2 separate regions of the Homo sapiens genome follow, and region 2 is linked to region 1. The links are contacts of gene promoters, found by promoter capture Hi-C in blood cells and fetal thymus (Javierre and others, 2016). All regions are on one chromosome and are shown on one strand. Each heading gives the region's core, a stretch centred on a gene start or on the middle of the fragment in contact. The rest is flanking DNA. Distances are from core to core; before and after follow the strand shown. Region 1 holds the start of GJD3 (gap junction protein delta 3). Region 2 overlaps LOC105371773 (a long non-coding RNA gene).

The links. The method cuts DNA at HindIII sites, captures the fragments that hold promoters and counts their contacts. A CHiCAGO score of 5 or more calls a contact.
Region 2: a fragment that was not itself captured here is called in contact with the fragment with the promoter of GJD3 in region 1 in 5 of 17 cell types (megakaryocytes, erythroblasts, fetal thymus and 2 more); the score reaches 7.5 in megakaryocytes.

The regions. Positions count from the first base shown.
Region 1 is chr17:40,362,136-40,367,994 of GRCh38, reverse strand. GJD3 (gap junction protein delta 3) reads left to right here and starts at 3,258. Exons shown (of 1, transcript NM_152219.4): 1 at 3,258-5,859. The coding sequence starts at 4,180. The coding sequence ends at 5,064. It overlaps GJD3-AS1 (GJD3 antisense RNA 1), which reads right to left and starts at 5,150. Exons shown (of 1, transcript NR_186704.1): 1 at 2,560-5,150. It also overlaps the pseudogene PPIAP54. RefSeq lists silencers at 4,807-4,916, 4,947-5,026, 5,147-5,216 and an enhancer at 5,044-5,338. The HindIII fragment of the contact is 7,280 bases long and covers 1-5,859 here.
Region 2 is chr17:40,521,167-40,527,948 of GRCh38, reverse strand. It overlaps LOC105371773 (a long non-coding RNA gene), which reads right to left. Exons shown (of 4, transcript NR_188623.1): 3 at 4,294-4,484; 4 at 947-1,505. Among named protein-coding and RNA genes, the nearest start is that of TNS4, 23 kb to the right of the region's middle. RefSeq lists a silencer at 3,058-3,352. The HindIII fragment of the contact is 3,374 bases long and covers 543-3,916 here.

The sequences.
Region 1 (5,859 bases), core at 2,009-4,508:
TCACTGCCAGCGGCGATGTTGAAGAACATGGTGGGGTTGACCATGGCTGATAGTTACTGGGTACAAACACATACGTGCACCTATGTGTGTCTTACATGAGCAGTGGCCCCACAATCCGATGGCCAGGGAGAGGTGTCTGGAACAGAGACCGGAGCGAGGCAGGATTGGCCTCTCAGCCCAGCCCCAGATTTTTTTTTTTTTTTTTTGAGATGGAGTCTTGCTCTGTTGCCCAGGCTGGAGTGCAGTGGTGCCATCTCGGCTCACTGCAAGCTCCGCCTCCCAGGTTCACGCCATTCTCCTGCCTCAGCCTCCCAAGTAGCTGGGACTACAGGCGCCCGCCACGACACCTGGCTAATTTTTTGTATTTTTTAGTAGAGACGGGGTTTCACCGTGTTAGCCAGGATGGTCTCGATCTCCTGACCTTGTGATCCGCCTGCCTCGGCCTCCCAAAGTGCTGGGATTACAGGCGTGAGCCACTGCACCCAGCCCCCGGCCCCAGTCTTTAGGCATGGCCGAGAATGGGCCACCGGCTGCCAGATGGAGGCAGCGTCAGCAACACCTCCTCTCAGGCTGGATGGCGCTATCAGGGAAGGAGGACCGGGCCTGAGATTGTAGAGTCTCTGGGTCTGGCCCTGTGGCATCACAGGCTGCAGACAGCACAGGGTGACTGTAGGCTCTCCACTTCCCACCCCACCCTGGCCCACCGCCTCAGCTGCTTTCCATTCCCGCAGGGCTGATGGGCTTTTTCCAGGTGGCGCCAATGGCCTGACCCAGCAGGAGCCACGGGACAGGACGGGGTGGGGACCATTCCTGGACAGTCAAGGGAGATGAGATGTGACCCTGAGCCCCTGTGGCTGGGGGCAGGGGGCCGGTAGCAGCTTTGCCAGGGGCAGAGGGAGGTCGGGAGGGTGAGGCCAGCAGCGCCCCCAACCCACATCCTGTTTTCAGAATCTGGGGCTCCAGCATGTGCTTTTTCCCTTGGACTTTCTCCAGGGCAGCGTCCCCCACCCAGGCCCACTCCCAAGGGAAGCCTGCACGAGGGCAGGAGGGTTCCCCAACACACACAAGCAGGAGTTTACCTAGAGTTTTTCCTGCGGGGGCTGGGCCCCTGAGCTGGAGGGAGTGGTGGGTGAAGGGTACGTGCCTTCCCCTTCCTGAAAGTGGACCTGGGGGTCTGCGTCAGCATATGGAAAACCACACAGGCACCCATGGCTGATAGGGAGAGGAACTGTGACCAAGGAGGTGAGTCCTGCTGCCCTTCTTCAGAGGGGCAGGCATGACCTCCCTCCAGTGCCTGCACCCACCAGCCCCACACAAGGCTGGCATAGAGGCAACCCCTCCTGGGGACTGTCAGGCCCTGGGACAGCACCTGGGAAGCCCAGCCAGGCTGGATGGAGGACAGTTCCATGAAAGGCTCAAGAGCTTGGGCTCAAGAACTAGTTGGGCCTCGCATAGGCCTGGATCTGCTATTTACCGGCTGCGCGACAGCAGGCAAGTGGCTTAGACCCTCTGAGTCTCAGTTTCCCCTGGTGTAAATAGTGCCCTCATGCCACCATTGACAGAGAATCGAATGAGCTCATTGGCATATGGAGCTAACGGGGTTCCACACGGGGACTGGCCCAGCAGGTGCATAGGTGAAGCGGGTTTTGCTATGCACTCAGGCGGACCCCTAGGAAGGCAGAGCAGACAACCAAACATCTCAGCCTGGAGTGTCCCCTCCCTGACCACTCAGATCACCGTCGGTCACCCTTACTCCCTTCTCCATAAAACAGCTTCCCCCGCCACCCAGGGCAGTAGGAGGGAACTCTCAATTCAGAGCCTTCTGGGGGGAAAAAGTCCTATTTTTCACATTATAAAATAACATGAGGCCGGGCGCGGTGACTCAAGCCTGTAATCCCAGCACTTTGGGAGGCCGAGGCAGGTGGATCACCTGAGGTCAGGATTTCGAGACCAGCCTGACCAACATGGAGAGATCCTGTCTCTATTAAAAATACAAAATTAGCTGGGCATGGTGGCACATGCCTGTAATCCCAGCTATTCAGGAGGCTGAGGCAGGAGAATCGCTTGAACCCGGGAGGAGGAGGTTGCGGTGAGCTGAGATCACACCACTGCACTCCAGCCTGGGCAACAAGAGCAAAACTCTGTCTCAATAAATAAATAAATAAATAAATAATAAAATAACATGTTAGGCCGGGTGTGGTAGCTCACGCCTGTAATCCCGGCACTTTGGGAGGCTGAGATAGGCGGATTGTTTGAGGTCAAGAGTTCGAGATCAGCCTGGTCAACATGGCGAAACCCCACCTCTACTAAAAATACAAAAATTAGCCGGGCGTGGTGGCGCACACCTGTAATCCCAGCTACTGGGGAGGCTGAGGCAGGAGAATCGCTTGAACCCGGGAGGCGGAGGTTGCATTCAGCCAAGATCATGCCACTGCACTCCAGCCTGGGCGACAGAGCTAGACTCCATCTCAAAACAAACAAATTAAAAATAAATAAATAAATAACATGTTCATTATAGTAAAGCTGGAAATAACAGAAAAGTGGGAAGGAAACCAAAGATTTTATTTAACTATCAAAGCCAGGCACTTGGGATATTTTAATGGTTTTCCATATGGGATTTTTTTTTTTTTTTTTTTTTTTGCAGGCACAAGGGTTTTTTTGGTTCTCTGTAATATGGTTGGGAATTCAATATTAAGAAGTAGAGAATCCCAGCTACTCAGGAGGCTAAGGTGTGAGGATCACTTGAAGCCAGGAGTTCAAGATCGACCTGGGCTATGTAGAGAGACCCCGTTCCAAAAAAGATGTAAAGCTGGAAGGAAACTTGGGGGTCAGCTGGACTGGCCGCCTTTGTTGACAAGGCAGGAAAGCCTGGCTCAGTACCGCCGAATGATTTGTCCAAGGTGAGCGGTGGCAGAGCTGGAACCAGAAGCTGTTAGATGTTTGCTGCCCCTTAAACTCCAGCACCAAACCTCCCTCTGTCCCCGAAGACCATCTTCACAGGGCATGGTTAGTGCGTAGTGGATCTAGGCTCCAGACTGAGGGTCTGTCTGGGAAGGGCTTCTAGGAATCCCCCAGCTTCCTCGATAAAGGATGTGGCTCTGGTTACCCCCCTCCCCCATTTCCAGATGGAAATTTAGCTAAAGAGTGAGGGCCACAGAGCCCAGCAAGGGGCGTGGTCCGTGCCTGTTCCCAAGGGCGGAGCCAGCCAGCAGGGTCACCCTGTTCCTTTAAGAGAAGGGGGAGCGCTAGCCCCTCTCAGCCATCCTGTCCTGTCCTCCATCCTGGCCAAATCCGAAAGGGAAAATGAAAGAGGGAGCAGGAGGCGCCGGTCCCAGCCACCTCCCAAGGTCCCTGGCTCAGCTCTGACACCCCAGTCCCGGCCCCAGGGTGAGTGGGGTTGGGTGGCGGTTTAGGGGCACCAGGGGCGTGTGGGGACCTGTGTAAGTGTGGGGTGGGGAGGATCTCAGGAGATGTGGAGGCTGGAGGCACAGGAGGCCAGGGAGGAGGGAGAAGCCTGGCGTCGCACTCCCACCACGCTGGGGTAGGAGGGCAGGGACACCTCCGACAAAGGACCCTGTGAGAGTTATGAAAGCGGAGTTGCCTCTGTACCAGCCCCCCACCCTGAGAGGAGTTCACTGCAGTAAAAATGGTGAGAGAAATGGTGGGCCAAGAAAGGAGTGGTCTCGCTGCCTCTGCCACTCCCACTCCTCCCATGGGCACCAAATTGGGTCTAGCGTCTCGGGTTCGAGGCTCCACTCTTCCCACAGCATCCTTGACAGCTAAGGGCACCGCTGGGTTTCCGCTTCCGAAACCAGGCAAGTCAGGGGCTGGTCCAGCTGATCTCCAAGGTCCTTCCTAAGAATCTGGGATCTGGAGGATCCCAGGGTCGAACGGAGACGGCTCAGGGGGTGCGGCTAAAATGCAAATGGGGGATCCTCCCCAGCACCCATCGGTCCCAAAGAGAAGGTAACCCATAGCTGAGCGTCGCCTGCTCCCCTCGGGCCCTCCCGTGGCCCTCCGTTTCATACTGGTCTCATCGCTAAACCCGGGCCTCTCCTACCTCACGACTCACCCTGAAGTCAGAGAAGGTCCAACGGACCCCACCCCGATAGGCTTGGAAGGGGCAGGGGTCCCTGACTTGCCCCATCCCCTGACTCCCCGCCCCGCGTCCCCAGCGCCATGGGGGAGTGGGCGTTCCTGGGCTCGCTGCTGGACGCCGTGCAGCTGCAGTCGCCGCTCGTGGGCCGCCTCTGGCTGGTGGTCATGCTGATCTTCCGCATCCTGGTGCTGGCCACGGTGGGCGGCGCCGTGTTCGAGGACGAGCAAGAGGAGTTCGTGTGCAACACGCTGCAGCCGGGCTGTCGCCAGACCTGCTACGACCGCGCCTTCCCGGTCTCCCACTACCGCTTCTGGCTCTTCCACATCCTGCTGCTCTCGGCGCCCCCGGTGCTGTTCGTCGTCTACTCCATGCACCGGGCAGGCAAGGAGGCGGGCGGCGCTGAGGCGGCGGCGCAGTGCGCCCCCGGACTGCCCGAGGCCCAGTGCGCGCCGTGCGCCCTGCGCGCCCGCCGCGCGCGCCGCTGCTACCTGCTGAGCGTGGCGCTGCGCCTGCTGGCCGAGCTGACCTTCCTGGGCGGCCAGGCGCTGCTCTACGGCTTCCGCGTGGCCCCGCACTTCGCGTGCGCCGGTCCGCCCTGCCCGCACACGGTCGACTGCTTCGTGAGCCGGCCCACCGAGAAGACCGTCTTCGTGCTCTTCTATTTCGCGGTGGGGCTGCTGTCGGCGCTGCTCAGCGTAGCCGAGCTGGGCCACCTGCTCTGGAAGGGCCGCCCGCGCGCCGGGGAGCGTGACAACCGCTGCAACCGTGCACACGAAGAGGCGCAGAAGCTGCTCCCGCCGCCGCCGCCGCCACCTCCGCCACCGGCCCTGCCCTCCCGGCGCCCCGGCCCCGAGCCGTGCGCCCCGCCGGCCTATGCGCACCCGGCGCCGGCCAGCCTCCGCGAGTGCGGCAGCGGCCGCGGCAAGGCGTCACCGGCCACCGGCCGCCGAGATCTGGCCATCTAGGGGCGGGCACCGCCTCGCGCGGACTGGACGGCGAGGGCCGGACCCCGCCACCTCCGCCCGCACCGCAGAAGCCGGAAGCTGCTTCCACCAGAGCTGTCGCGGGACCTGCCCCGGCAGGAGACGCGTTGTGGGGACGGCCCGCGGGCGGCATCGCACTTGCCTCGTACTGCCTCCCAGTGGCTGCCGGCGGCACCTGGGGCAGGCCGGGCTGGGGGCGGAGAATGAACTCAGGCAGGTCCTGGATGCCACCACCCAGGTGGAAAGGAAGGAGACCAGGACCCTGAGAGAGAGTGGACCCGAGGGGGAGAACAGAGCGGAAGGTGGAGAGTGGTTGTTTTACTGGGGACAAAAACAACTGTGATGCCAGCATTCTCAGGCACTCTCTGTGTTCAGAGAGAGAGTGGTCCCCCTGTGGGCTCTCTGCGAGTGTGCATACACGGACACATAAGCACTGTGAGCTGTGTGCACGCGCACCTGTACACCCTGTGTGAGCGCTGTGCATGTGCGCGCATGTGTACACCCTGCGTGAGGCCCACTTGTGCACACAGACACACGTAACCCTCCCGGGTGAGCTGTGTGCACATGCACACAGAAACATATGCCCCTTGAGAGCTGTGTACTCACATCCCTGTGAGCTTTGTGTGAGTGCATTGTGCACACACGCACATGTCCATTCTGTGTGGGCTGCGTGTGCACACCTGTACACAGAAACATCCTTGTGCGCTATGTGTGCATGTGTACATCCGGCGTGACCTCTGTGTGTGCACGCGTGTGTGTGTGATCTCTGATATGCAC
Region 2 (6,782 bases), core at 980-3,479, 160 kb before region 1:
TTAATGGAAGGACACACATCTACCCATTATTTCTTTTTCCAAGTGGGCTTGGAGGGGACAAGAGAAAGATTTTTTCCTTTCAATTTTTTTTTCTTTATTGCTTAAATTTTTATAACAAGCATGTTACTCATTTGTGACTTTTTAAAAAATGCTTAACTTTTTTTTTAATCCAAAAGGCCAGCCCTTTGGAAGCCTCTTTGTTGTCTTCCCGAGAGCGATGGCTGGGACACAGCTGCAGTAGTGGCACCACTGTGTGTGACTGCTGGACCCTGCAAGGTTTGCCCTGAGTGTGGATAACTGAGAAGAAGTAGGAATCTTCACAATCCAAATGACCACTTAGGAACATTTAATGGCTAAACAAGTGAAATATTTGTAATTGTCCACTTATTTGTGGTGTGTTTGATGTCTGTCTTTTCTATGAGACTCTAAACCCCAAATGGCAGGGGCCAGGTTTGTTTTGTACATCACAGAGCCAGCTGCCAGCACACACTCAACACATACTCAATAAAAAGGGGTCAAATGAATGAAAGAACACCGAAGCTTGGGATGGCCCTCATGGATCATCTAGTCTAACCTCCTCATTTTATATAATTGGTAAAATTGAAGCCCAGAGAAGTCAAGGGACAGAGTGAGTAAGTGGTAGCCAAGACTCAGAAGAGCCTTATCACTCTCAATCCAGGCTCTTACCTTCAAAAAGAAAATTTAAAAAAATTTTTTTAAACCCACATGATACACATTTTATAGTAAGATCAAAAGACATACAAACAAGGATAGAGAAGTATTGTCTAATAATTATCAGAATTTTAAACCAGTGTTTTCATCTAACTTTGGCTTTTCCCGCTGGGGCTAAATATTCAACAGATGTTGGGGTTTGCGGGTGCTAGTTAATCACATCCCTCACTTCTCCGAGGTCTGATCCAATTGAGAAATAGTCACAGGAGACAAGTAGGGATTAAAATGTCAGCTTTATTGCTAGTCCAGATGGACTGGAGGATGTGGCTAAGACCCAAGGCCCAAATGAGCTTTCTGTGTCTTCTCCTCTGACTTGAACTCACTCACCCACTCGCGGCAGAGCAGCTGGACTATTGAAGTCCTCCCAAGCAAGGGCTGGACCCGCCCTGGTGCTCATTGCCTGGAGGAGGCAGGAGCAGACAGAGAACATGCTGCTTGCAGTCAGGTCAGTCCCAGAGAGAGAGCCAGGAACAGGCTGAGCCATGCACACTTGATACCCTTTTCCCAACGACACCAATCCAAGAGGTCCCTCCTCCTCTCACAGAGAGGAACCAGTGAAGATTGTACAGAGAAAATCGAAAAGTTCCTTCCCAATTCTTCCAAGAGGTTGTCAGTTCCTGTTTTATGGGCTGATAGGAGAATGGGGAGGGGAGATAGTTGCCCCCTTAACAGAGCCTTCAATTCATTCAATACCTTTTCATAGAATCTGAAAACTTCTGTGTTACAAGAAGCAGCTCTGACGTGAAAGATTGTATCAATTGAAAGTGAATTTGCTGCAAATAACAGAAAATTGAGATCAGTAACTTAAACTAAAAAGGGACATATTTTTCTAATGCAACAGGAAATTCAGAGGGGGGCAGATCTGGGCTGGGCATGCTCCATGATGGTGCCAGGGAGCAGGACTCCTGCCTTTCTGCTCCACCATCCTTAGAAAGTGGCTTTTGTCTTCACACTTTTAAGATTGCTCCTCCACGTCTAGGCATCCTGTCTACATTCCAGACAAGGCAGGGAGGACAAAGGGACAGCTAAGTCTGTCCCTTTTTATCAGGAAACTGATAGCTTTTCCAGAAACTCTATTCAGTAAATGTGTGTTTTCATCTCATGGGCCAAAACTGTGTCACTTGCCCCACTCTCTGAAAGGGAGTCCATGAAATTGAACTTTGAACTTGGCAAAATTGGATTCTTTTCAATAAAGGAAGAAGACTGAATATTGGGTAGCAGAATGACCTCCACAAAAGGCACAAAATGGTGAAAGAAAATAGAAAATATTGTCCAAAAAGTGTTTTTTAAAAAAAGATGTGGACAATTGTTTTTGCAAACATTCAAGAAGGAGATTATTCCCTGTGCAAACACTTTCAGAGAATAAAAACGTAGAAAACTCAGTTCATCTTACAAAGCTAGCATAACCCTGATACCTAAACCCAATAACAGAAAACACACACTAAATAAACAAATTAATTAAAACTACATACCAAGCTAACTTATAAGCTGACAAAAATTCCATGCTTTTCTCATTCTTGGTTTCTCCTTTGTTTTACTGCTGCACATCCTCTATTGCTGTCTTTTTTTCTAGGAGCATTACCACAAGGAGTCTATAGGAAGTAAACTTCCTCAGTCCTCATGTATCTTAAAGTGTCTTTGATTTGCCCTCTTAACCAGTAGACAGTTTAGCTAGGTATTGAATTCTAAGTTGAAAATCTCTCTCTCAGAACTTGGAAGAGATTGCATCATTGTCTTTTGTCATCCAATGCTGCTAGTGAGAAGTCTGGTGACTTTCCGATTTTCATTCCTTTATAGGTGATTTTTTTCTCTCTGGAAACTTTTAGCATCTTCTTATTTTCCCAAGTATTCTGAAATTTCTAAATCTTGTGTGTTTTTTTTTTTTTGCTGGGGGCTTGCCTGATGAATCCTGTTATTCTGAAGACTGGAGTGTTTTGTCTAAAAAATTCTGTTCAGTCATTTATTTGAAAATTCTCTCCCTTGATTTCTCCCTTCTCTCTGAAATCTTTATAAATCAAACATGGACCTCCTGTATTAATTTTTTATGTCTCATATATTATCTAATAAAATTCTGTTTCTTTAACCTTTTGCTTTATTTTCTGAGAGATTACCTTGACCTTAACTTTCAACATTTCCAATGAATTTTAATTACATTTTTCTATGTCTGGGGCTTTTGTGTTCTCTAATTGTTTCTCTTTTCATATCACTACTCATGTTTTATAGATTCAGTGTCTTCTTGAATTCTTTTTTTAAGTTCTATTCTACGTATGAATTGTCTTTGTTTCCTCAGAGGTCTTATTTTCACTTTGCTTATCTTAGTCTCTCTATTTCATATTTCAGGCTTCCTCAAATAGCTTCTGGCTTATGGTTGTCCATTCATATTTAAGAATGAAGCAGTAGAAAACTTTCCTGGAAGCTCTGTGTACATGGATAAGAGGAGATGAATGGCAGGCTTTGTTTCCACGTAAACTGATCTTTATGCCTTGAGATTTCTAAATGTCAGCCTGCAATGTGCTTTGTTCTCAGATGCCACCTTAAAACCCAGCTATCCTAGTCTTCCTCAGGCAATTTAATTTCTTTAAAGAAGAAATTAGGGGAAGGAGCAAAATGGGGGACAAAGCAAACATCTGCTGGCTGAACAGTTTGCATATAAGAGTCAGGGATTTAACTGTTCCATTTTTAGACTTCCAATTAAGCTCCCCCTTTTCAGCCACATATCCCTTTCCCACCCTCCATTGCACCTAGCACATCCAAGTCCTGAGCTTCTCTGTGCCTCTGCTGGTGGGTCAGCTCCCTCTTTGGCTGCAAACCCAGCCATGTGCATTCCACACAGCAGCTTCCTCTGTCCTGCTTACTCAGTCATCCTTCCCCATCGAACCACTTCTCCAGAAATTTGTTGGGATTTCTCTTGTCCACAGGTGCCCCCTCCCAATTCAAATTCTCCTTTGGAAGCATTGATATGTTTATTATTTATTACAAAGACATTTCTGGAAGAGGTAAAGATAAGCCCATGTGCATTTAGTCAACCCTCTTGGATTGGAAGTCCCACTGACCTTGTAATGAAGGCTGGTGGGCATGGGTGTGTGCTTTTACATAGACAGACCTGAGCAGACTGTGCAGTCCTTCTAATCAATGACACATTTACAAGAAACTCAAAAATATGCACAGAGATGGAAGGAAAGCTTTTTTTTGTTACATAACACATTTCAGTGTCTGTTGATTATAATATATTTTAAATACGAAACTAAAATTATACGTGTCCCTAAAGCACCTCCTCAGAACCCTAAAAATTTTGTAGAATATACTGGGAAAACCACTGGCATGATTAAAAAAAAAAGAGCATGGAGTTTGGAGTCAAACAAACCTGATTCAAATCCTGGTTCAACCATCTGTTCTCTCCAAATGTTAGTTCCCACATCAGTACCTACCTTCTCAGATTGCTGTGAGGATTAAGTGAGATAATATATATGCAGAGCACCTAGCACAGAATCCAGTGATTAGTAGGTGCTCAATAAATGCTCATTGCTATTCCTCCTTCCCACTCCATACTAGACTACTCACCATGCCCCACCTCGTTCATGCTATTTCCACCTCCCCTCTTCTGTACTTCTTGGGTCTCTGCTTGTTCTTCAAGGTTCAAATCAAACATCCCCACCTTCACAAAATCTTCTCCAACCTTCCGGAAGAGTAACTGCTCTTTCTTCTGTGTCCCCGTGACACCTGTTCATACCTTTGCTGTAGTTCCAATCTCTCTGCAACAAAGAGAGCTTTGCACACACCTGTCCCTCTGGTGGAGAGGGATTCCTTAAAGGGAATCCTCATATTTCCCCTGCACCCAGTCCTATAGCTAGCACACAGTGGGCAATCAATAAGTATTGGAGTCTAATTGAGTTGCAGCAAGCTGAACTGGATTATGAAGATCCCAAACCCACTGCCAGGCAGAGATATGAAAGCCAAGCTATCATGGCCAGGTGCGGTGGCTCACGCCTGTGATCCCAGCACTCTGGGAGGCCAAGGCAGGTGGGTCTAAGACACAGTCTGTGAGCAGGATCCTGTTCTCAGTCCTCGAGCAGAGCCAAAAGGAGGAAGAGCATCACCCACACTGGGAGTTGCAGGTCTAATGAAGAAAGCAGGACAGGAAGAATCCCTGTCCTCAAGGAGCTTCTCATCTAATATGGCGGGGGGTGGGAGGGCAGGGAAACAAAATAGAGTCCCAGGCTTCAAGTCGCTCCCAGGCTGATGTGATCCAACCCACACTCAGGAAACACCCAGTCCAATATGGGAGACAGTACATGTGCACACAAGTGTCATCCAAATTGAGAGGATACAGCACCAGTCACTGTGCCTACTGTGTCCCTACTGTGTGCTAAGCATGTTACTTAGGGGTATCACTTATAAGGCCGTCATGCAAATGGTCCAGTCTCAAAGCTGCGTTATCATCAAGGATGGCAACCAGGCTGGGCGCAGTAGCTCATGCCTGTAATCCCAGCACTTTGGGAGGCTAAGGCAGGAAGATCACTTGAAGCCAGGAGTTTGAGACCACCCTGGGCAATATAACAAGACCCTGTTGCTACAAAAAAAAATTGGCTGCAGTGAGCTATGATCTCACCACTGCGTCACTCCAGCCTAGGCGACAGAGCAAGATCCCATCTCAAAGAAAAAAAAAAAGAGACAGAGTGGGAGAGGAGAGAGAGAATAGCAACCAAAAAATAATAATTTCACAATAACTCTGTTTACTTGAATTTCTTAAACTTGACTACAAAGATTCATGGATCATAGCGATGCTTCTCAAATCTCCTTTCTCCCACCCACTCTCTTCCCTCACCCATTACAGCTGCTCAAACCTCCCTCCTCCCTCAGTCTTGCTGCTAATCCTTCTTCCCTCTCTCTCTCTCCTCCCAGTTCTATATCGCCTATGCCTAAGGACTATTCCAATAAATCAGCACCTTTCATAGAGGGTTAAGGGAGGCGTGCGCGCACACACACACACACACACACACACACACACACACACACACACACACACAATTCAAATAGGCCAAGTCAGGATTTTCTCTGATGAGCAGAGAGAAGGGAGAGACTGGGATGGAACACTCGACCCCCACCCGCCCCCGCCGATGGCTTTCCTCCTGCCACACACACATTATCTCACTTGATCCTCACAACCAACATATAAGGTTGATGCTATTATCCTTATTCTACCTATGAAAAAACTGAGATTAGCAAGTAATGCTTGACCCAGGCCATGCCATTAGTTAGCAGTGGAGCAGGGACTTGAACCCATGTCTGCCGAAAGGACAAATATCCTTGTTCCTGGCAGGGTGTCCAGAGTGAAGGAGTTGGGTGACTCAGGGCTTGGAGAGAGTGCTTTGTGGAAAGCAATCTTCAGGGTGTGGTGAATTCTTCTTCAATACCTCAGGATATGTATGTGTTTGTGTCTGTGTGCGTCTGGGGATGGGGGTGACCTGACCACAGGGAGTTCTTCTCAGCCATGCTCCACTTCCTACAGAGTGGGAGGACATTCCCTGTGGAGCCAGTCATCCTGGGGCAGCTCAGGGAGGACTGCAAGGGCACCCTCCACAGCGGGGAGGATACGTGGGGACTCTCCCTGGGGGTCAGAGTGGAGCAGGGAACTCCAGAAGCCCGAAGGGAGGAGACTCCTGGGGGCCAGGCTGAGAGTATGATTCGCTCATGGCATCTTGTTACAGGAACAGGAAGCTTCCGTCTCCTTAGAGCCTCCCTTCAGCAACATGAAGCTGGAAGGGCAGAGCGTGGCCCCATTTTACAAGTAACAAAACTGAGTCCCAAAGCAGTTCCTCCACTGTAGAGGAGACAGGGCTAGGCCTCAACACAGACCCTCTGGCATCCCGCCACGCCCCACACACAGCCTAGGCTGCCAGGAGGACTCCACAGCCCTGCATCCCACCTCCACTTCCCCCGGCCCATCCGAAACAGTGCCTCCTTCTCTCCTTCCTGAGGCCACCAAGCGACTCTTGTCCCTGGACTTTGAGTCCTTCGGGCAGACCCAGAGGAACCTGTCCTGCCCGCTG